Regions from separate parts of the Homo sapiens genome. Here all the other regions are linked to region 1. Evidence: promoter capture Hi-C in 16 types of primary human blood cells and fetal thymus (Javierre and others, 2016). All regions are on one chromosome and are shown on one strand. Each heading gives the region's core, a stretch centred on a gene start or on the middle of the fragment in contact. The rest is flanking DNA. Distances are from core to core; before and after follow the strand shown.

Evidence for each region. Contacts are between HindIII fragments. The CHiCAGO score rates a contact against its expected background, and 5 or more counts as called.
Region 2: a contact is called between a fragment that was not itself captured here and the fragment with the promoter of UBE2D1 in region 1, in 1 of 17 cell types (neutrophils). The highest score is 5.3, in neutrophils.
Region 3: a fragment that was not itself captured here is called in contact with the fragment with the promoter of UBE2D1 in region 1 in 1 of 17 cell types (monocytes); the score reaches 6.5 in monocytes.

The regions. Positions count from the first base shown.
Region 1 is chr10:58,333,701-58,336,323 of GRCh38, forward strand. It overlaps UBE2D1 (ubiquitin conjugating enzyme E2 D1), which reads left to right and starts at 1,306. Exons shown (of 7, transcript NM_003338.5): 1 at 1,306-1,525. The coding sequence starts at 1,502. RefSeq lists enhancers at 970-1,470, 1,069-1,363 and a silencer at 1,171-1,690. The HindIII fragment of the contact is 6,404 bases long and covers 1-2,623 here.
Region 2 is chr10:58,163,513-58,166,135 of GRCh38, forward strand. No RefSeq gene overlaps it. Among named protein-coding and RNA genes, the nearest start is that of IPMK, 100 kb to the right of the region's middle. The HindIII fragment of the contact is 3,813 bases long and covers 1-2,623 here.
Region 3 is chr10:58,188,408-58,191,030 of GRCh38, forward strand. No RefSeq gene overlaps it. Among named protein-coding and RNA genes, the nearest start is that of IPMK, 78 kb to the right of the region's middle. The HindIII fragment of the contact is 2,947 bases long and covers 1-2,623 here.

The DNA.
Region 1 (2,623 bases), core at 56-2,555:
TACAACATTTATTGCATTAGTTATGGGTGAGGAAATTGAGGCTTAGAAGGATTTGAAGATTTGCTCAAGGTGGAGATTCTCAAAAGTGTCCTCAGATACCTGCATCCTAACTTCCTGGGAAGTTTGTTCTAAAGTTTAGACTCCAGAGCTTCACCCAAAACTTACTGCTAAATTAAATCCTTTAAAGGAAATCTGCATTTTTAGGATCTCCTCTTATGCCTTCCAGCATAGTGCTTCTCAAACCCTAATGTTCATCTGAATCACCTAGGAGTCTTATTAAACTGCAAAGTGTGATGTAGCATGTCTGGAGTGGGGCTCAAGATTCTGTTTTTGTTTGTTTGTTTTTGTTTTTCAACTTTTATTTTAGATTTAGAGGCCACATATGCAAGTTTGCTACCTGGGTATGCTGTGTGATGCTGACATTTGTGGTATGAATGATTTTATCACCCAGGTACTGACAATAGTACCCAACAGTTTTTCAACCTTTGCTCCCTCGGTCCCCTCTCTAGTAGTCCACAGTGTCTATTTGTTGCCATCTTTATATCCCTGAGTGATATGGTTTGGCTGTGTCCCCACCCAAATCTCATCTTGGCCAAGAAGCCAAGTTTTAATGGGTACACAAGTGCATAGGAATTGGAGAGTGGGGAGCGTGAGTTGACTATTGGTCAGGGACTGTCAACGGAAGGGAAGGAACCAATGATGGGAGTGAGAGCCCAGAACTCGGTGTTCGAAGTGGGTAATTTATGGGAGGGGCATACCTACGAGCAGACAATGCACTCAGACAAGGAAGATTTGCACATTGGACAGAAGAGACACCTTTTTCCTCTGCAATAAGAACCAAGGAGGTAAGTAGGGGGTCTGATATGAGTTTGTGCATGTGTGCAGGGTGAGTGAGACAATCCATATATTTGAGAAAAGACAGTGAAATCTTTAAAGGTAAAAATAATAAAACCAGCTGTGGCACCTATTGGATAAGGAATTACTAACTGATGATTTAGAAATTCCTTTATGTGCGTTAGGAGCTCATTTGTTATCCCCATTTTACAGATGCGCAGCCCCAGGTTCAGCAATTTGCTCTAAATGAGACTGTAGAGGCTAATTCCAGCCCCCGGCAGCTCTCACCTTAAGCTGCCTGGCTGAGGTCAGCAGTAAGTTACCTGGCAGCGTCCGGGGGCCTGCAGCCGAGGACAGGGCTGGAACTACACTTCCCAGTGTGCCAGGCGGGGCGGGGCGCGGCGGGGAGGGCGCAGGCTCCTTCCCAGAAGCAAAAGCGGAAACAAAAGAGTCTCGCCGGCGTCCCCGCCCGCACACTCGCGCACACTCGCGCTCGGGCGCACACGGAGCAGGGACCGGCGCCCGGAGCGAGCCAGGGAGCGGCTAACCGGGGACCCACCGCGCGGAGCCAGCCTAGCTGCCAGCGAGCCCAACCCGCGACGACCCACGCCCCTGAGCCCCGCAGCCGACCCCTGCCGGCCGGTGTCCCCACCGCCATCCCTGACCCATGGCGCTGAAGAGGATTCAGAAAGTGAGTGCCGGGGCCGGGCCTGGGGCTGCGGGGCAGCGGCCCCCTGCCCACGCTGACTCGGCCAGTGGTCCCGAGAGACATGCGGGGAGAGCAAGGGATGGAAGGGTGGGCCGGGGTGCGGGCAGGGAGCTGAAGGCTCGGGCCGGGCCAGCGGGCATCGGACAGGTGAGGTGGGAGCAGGGTCAGGTCCCAGGCGGCCGGAGGAGCTTGAAGGCTGGGGGCCCGCGCGCGTTCGCGCCGGAGCCGCTCCCGGAGCCCCAGGGTAGAGAGCCTCTTGCGCGTCCAGACCGTCCCGAAATCTGTGCTTCACGGTCACGGCCGGGTTTTGCCCTCCATGGGGCTAGTTTTGACCCCTGTCATGCTGTGTTTTCTCCAGGCTGTTTCTTAAGCCTGTCCTCTTTTATGTTCTTGCTTACCCGGCCTCCCCGGGAGGGCAAGGAAGGTGGGGTGGGCCTGCAGCCTTTCTCCGCGGAGCTGTCGGGTTGGTTCTTTCTCTCCTCTGCGGTTGGCTCTTGCTCAGTTGCCCGAATGGGCTGGAAAGCCCATTTGCGGCCAAGAAGTCAGGAGAAGGCTCCTGCCCCTTCTATTTTGGTGCCTCTGCTGCTGCCACTTCAGGTCACATAGCTGTAGCGAAAACATAGTTGCTGATACACAACAAGATGACCTCCTGGCTGTGATTCACGGTGAGTCAAGCCAAACAGGTTTTTTTCCCCCTCATGATAAACTTAGATGTAAAGTTCGAGACACAACATAAACTGTCGCAAATAAATTGTTTTGATGCTTTGACACATGGGTATAGAATGAGGAAGAAATATATATCTTCATCCAACAACTGTTTACCCATCTCAACCCTGTGTATGGAATCGTCTTTTTTTCACAGTATTTATTGCCACCATTTCAGATGCGAACATCCTTCAGAATTCAGATTCGGGCATTTCTTTCTGTTCATTTTTATTTCTTGTTGGTCTGTGTACTGACCCAAGTTTTAGGTTTTACAGTTACAGTTCACACTGGCAACATTGAGAATGTGTTTGTTAAATAGGGAGTGCTTTTCACTAAGTTAAGCAACAATGGACAGTGTATTTTGTAGTTGTTTCA
Region 2 (2,623 bases), core at 38-2,537, 170 kb before region 1:
TCATAAAGAATGTGAGTTCTCCAAATCTGATTGATGTTGTGGAATTTAAAAAAAAAAGAATCATCGCTGAGCACGGTGGCTCACACCTGTAATCCCAGCACTTTGGGGGCTGAGGCGGGCAGATCACAAGATCAGGAGATCGAGACCATCCTGGCTAACACGGTGAAACCCCGTTTCTACAAAAAAATACAAAAAAAAATTAGCCGGGCGTGGTGGCAGACGCCTGTAGTCCCAGGTACTCGGGAGGCTGAGGCAGGAGAATGGCGTGAACCCAGGAGGCGGAGCTTGCAGTGAGCCAAGATTGCGCCACTGCACTCCAGCCAAAAAAAAAAAAAGGAATCATCAAACCTGCGAGGCAAGCAGGGCGATGACGAGACACTTGTGTGATGATCCAGAAGAGGATCTGCAGTTTCCACAAACAGACTCGACCAGCTCCAAAACTGGCAAGGGTTGGTCCTACCTGCAGGACGGTTTGCCTGGTGCACATGCTTCTTGACTCTCCCCATCCTGAAAACTTTCCCTGAAATAATTTCTTCCTGCTTTTCTCTGTGGTCTGCAGGCTGAGCTCTTCTACATTTCCTGGGTCTCAATTTGTAGGACATTGTGTTTAACCTGTGTTTCCTTACTTCTGATTGGTGTTTCTCGTCTTGTGTCCTGAGTTCTGAAGACACTGATGACATTTGTTTGTTTGTTTGTTTGTTTGTTTGTTTGTTTGTTTTTGAGACAGGGTCTCACTCTGTCACCCAGGCTGGAGTGCAGTGGTGCGATCTCGGCTCACTGCAGCCTCCACCTCCTGGGTTCAAGTGATTCTCCTGCCTCAGCCTCCTGAGTAGCTCAGATTACAGGCATGCAACAACATGCCCAGCTAATTTTTGTACTTTTAGTAGAGACAGGGTTTCACCTTGTTGGCCACACTGGTCTTGAACTCCTGACCTCAGGTGATCCACCCACCTCGGCCTCCCAAAGTGCTGGGATTACAGGTGTGAGCCACCGCACCCAACCACTGATGACAATTTTTAAGCAATAAAAGAAATCTGCTACTTCTTCTCACCTTCAACCACCCATGGCAATTTCAGTTCTGTTGGAGATTGAGTACCTCTTCTTGACGCTTGTTCTAGAATCAAGCTGATGTTTAAGTCTGGAGGCTTCACAAAAGTCCACAGAAGCTGAGAGATGACTAAGCACAATCCGACTTTCTAGGCACTCGAGCCTCCCTCTTGCTCATTCATTCAGCAATCGCATGCACTGAGCCCCAGCTGTGGGCCAGTCACAGTGCTCAGCCTGGGGCATAGTCATGACAATATCTGCCCTCCAAGTTGACAATCCATGGAGAGACCAACTATAAACATGAAAGTGCAGCAAGGAGAAGCAGGGGCTACTGTGAAAGGAGGAGGTGGCCAAACCTAGTCTGAAGATCAGAAAAGGTTTCTCACAAGAAGTGACATATTGGCAGCTGAGGCTTGAAGGGTGAACAGGAATTGGTCAGGCGACTGTCTTATCATGCCCAGGTGTCCAGTCCCTGCATTTCCTGTGCTCCAGAGGACACACCCAATTTGACACCTCATCCTAGCTCTCCTTTCACAGGAGATACTGCATTTCCCCTGGTCATCCCTCATTCCACCCCCCATAATGAAACATAGGTCTTTGTCTCACATTGTCTTGGTTCGTTTGTGAATATCACTCATAGTCCAATCATCTGAGATCAACATTCTGACCCTACCATCTACAGTCTTTATGAATAAGTTGTCTTATTTCTTTTCTGAGTCATTTTTCTCATCCTGAAATATGGGGTCATTTATACCTTCCTACCTACTTCACAAAAATAAGAATAAATCAAATAATTGTGTTTTTGCTGCTGGATTATAAAAGGAGATTTTAAAGAAGTAGAATAGTTAAAAAAATATATGAGTTAAGCCAGCTGTCCCCAAAACACTTATCATCTCCTATGATGCTCTTTATATCATAACTATAGTCATAATAATAATAAAAGTTAATACTTTTATTGCTTATTTTGGTGTCTGTGCAGAGCAGACACCCTATAAATATTTTTTAATCACTTAATCTTCCCAACAAGTCTATAAGGTAGATATTAGTACTATTACTATTATTATTATTATCCTATTTTCAGATGGATATGAGGCAGAGAGAGGTTCAGTGATTTGTGTGCAATCAAGCAGCCAAGAAATGGTGGAACCAAGAGCAGCTGTGGGTGAGCACGTCGTGGCTATCCTCCCTTCCTTTCCTAACTCTCTGCTTCAACACCCCTCCCCTGATTCTGTCCCTGGTATTGTTTTCTGCAGTCTGCATTAAAAGCAACTTAGTCTGTTCTTTTCTTTATAGCACCACAACAGAGCTGACTTTTACATGCTGCAATCATCGCAAATTCCAAGCCGCTTCTTGAACAGGCAGTCACACAGAGTTACAGAATGTGACTGTTGCCCACTCTATCAGTGCTGGAAAGACTGATTCCATGGAGGGATAGAGAAAAGGCAGGTAAAATGAAAGCCTCCTGCCTAAAGTGTTAAATTTTCTTTTTAAAAACAATCAAAAAAAAAATTTCTGTCTATCTACAGACAACAGCATGTGCATCCATCAGGGCACCTGACTCATTGCCTCTATTCCA
Region 3 (2,623 bases), core at 54-2,553, 150 kb before region 1:
ACTGAGCACAGGTCTGATTAATCCTCCTACTTAAGATTAGGCAAATTTACTTAGAGCTAGAAACTAGAAATTAGGGATAAACACACTGACATGTTTGGATAAGGCCAGAGTGCTAGATGTTGCCATTTTTCAAAGAAGATTTACTAATTTTATTATCCCCAAGAAACATATTCAAAACCAATTATTACATATGCAAATGTACATATTATTACCAATAATAACAGGGTAAAAACTTAATAGTATCCCCTCTGGGGAAAAAATGAATGGGAAGTTCATGGGAAAGGGACATTATAAATAGGCATTCCTCCTAAGACTTTTCACCCTCTTTGGTACATTATAAAGAAAAAAAATAGCAGGGAGAAAATGACAACGAATTAATGTGAAATTCTGATTTAGGATGATGAAAATCCAGCTAAACGGAAATAAAACAGCATATTCAAGTTCATCTAAAAGCTGAACTAAAACTACTAGATCTGTGAAAAGAGTTTCAACATTAACTAGTGAAATGGTGTTTACAACACATAGTAGAAGATATGCATTCTTTTGCATAATTTCTGTCATAGAAGCAAACAGTTTGTTTACACTTGAAATAAAATCAGTTGACATTGATCACCAAGGAAGCTCATGAATAAGACAAGATTGCTTAGGATACGAAACCATTCTCCAAACGATAACATCATAATTTAAAGTGGAAGATGGCAATACTCTAGGACTGCCCAGCGGGCTCTACCTAGAAGAGGTAACGGATGAAAGAAAAAAAAAAGAAACATTTTAGGGATTTTAAAACTCGCATATGCTGCTTGTCCTGCTGCCTCTGTTCTGATCCACAGAATTAAATATCCACATTGTCTAACTTGTTCTGACATTGCTGCCCCATAAAGCCATGGACTATGACAAGACAGAATTTCTTGGTGCCCTGTGTGAGTTAATCTGAGGTTGGAGCATGTGGTTGATTGTACTGTGACTTCCCTGTATCCACACCCTTCTTCAGTGTCCTCCCACTCTGACTCTGGATTCAGCAACGGTAGCAAACTTAAACAGAAACTTGAAACCTGTTTGCATGTTTTCAGCTTCTTCTTCTGGACTCCTAACTACAACTCAGAGAAATGCCTGGGCTAGCCTGCTGAAATATGAGACACATCGTCCTACCCGCACCCCCAGATGACCTGCCAGCTGATTCTAGAGACATAAGTCTAGCCAAGATCAGCAGAACTGCCCAGCCAACTTGCAGATCCATCCAAATAATAAAGGGGGTTAAGACTTACGCTGCCACTTCGGGGTGTTATGCAGCAATAATTGTGGATAGAGTGGTCAGGCTAGTCCATGATTTAGATTGATTATCCCCTCCACCTCTGACATAACTTGGGTGGGTCAGGGCCAACCACTATGAAGAGTGGAAACTGAGAGTTAAAACGAGTAAGAATGAAAAGTTATGGTATTACAGTTTCTTTATGAATTTATAAATATGAGGATGTTCTTTGAACTGGATTCAAGCCTCGAAAGCTATAAACTAGGTCTATTTACCTGAAGTCTATGATCTTTAAAGTGTATGAGGTGAGACTGGTTACTCCTCCGTGCACTATCTCCACAAGATGCTTCCACACTCATCATTTTCCTTGAGTCCATTCCAAGGCACTTTAACAATTTATGTTAACTTTCATTAAATAATAATTTTAAAGACCTTCCTAGCTCCTCTTAGAAAGACTTGGTTTTCAACATTTCTTGGCATTTGAGCCAATTGTACCATGTCATTTACGCCCAAAGCACCTCTAGAATGTTGTCAGATGACAACTACAATGTAATTAACAAGCATACGCAGATTATTTTCTTAGGTTGGCAAAGTAGTAACTATTTACACAGAAATAAAAAAAGGCCAATGGCACAAATAATAGAAAATAACAAGTTTATCATTACAGGACTCCCAAAACTTGTTGCAGGAGGCATGGTTTAATGCCCTTGACATTAACTTTCCAATGAACTTTTTCTTCCAACTAAGAGTGGCCAGCGTTATATTAAGCCATTTCTGGCTGTATTTTCTTCACATTCTAAGCCCATTTCCTTTTCTGTTGCCAGCACTCTCTCTTGGCTTTCCAACAGCTCTGGTTGGGCCTCTGTTCAAGTGGTAGTGCACACCCTACCTCCAAGGAACTTGTTGCAAATCTTGTTAGTCAAAAGTGTGGTCCATGGACCAGCATCAGAGTCCAGTCCAGTCTACTTAATCAGAATCTGCATTTGAACAAAATCCCCACGTGATTATTTTTACTTATTTTATAATTATTTTCACTTTTTATTCTTTCTCTTTAGCTTTTATTTAGTCTTTACACTTAGCTATAACTTGGGGACTGTGGCAGTGGGGTTCCATGTTATTCTTTTCAGCAGTTAGGCAGCTTATCTTAATCAGGAGGGAAAAAACTACTAGATCACATAGTATTGCTCCTCCCCATAGCATTCACAAAGAAGCAGGCATTAAGGTGGAATTCAATACAACCTTCTTTAGCACTATGATGTTATAAACCACACTCTCTTCTTCCTCTTGCATGCTATAGAATGACTTCTCTGTCTTCACAACCCTGCTGGATATTGAGAAGTCAATCATAATTCCACTATTTTATCCCACACTGAC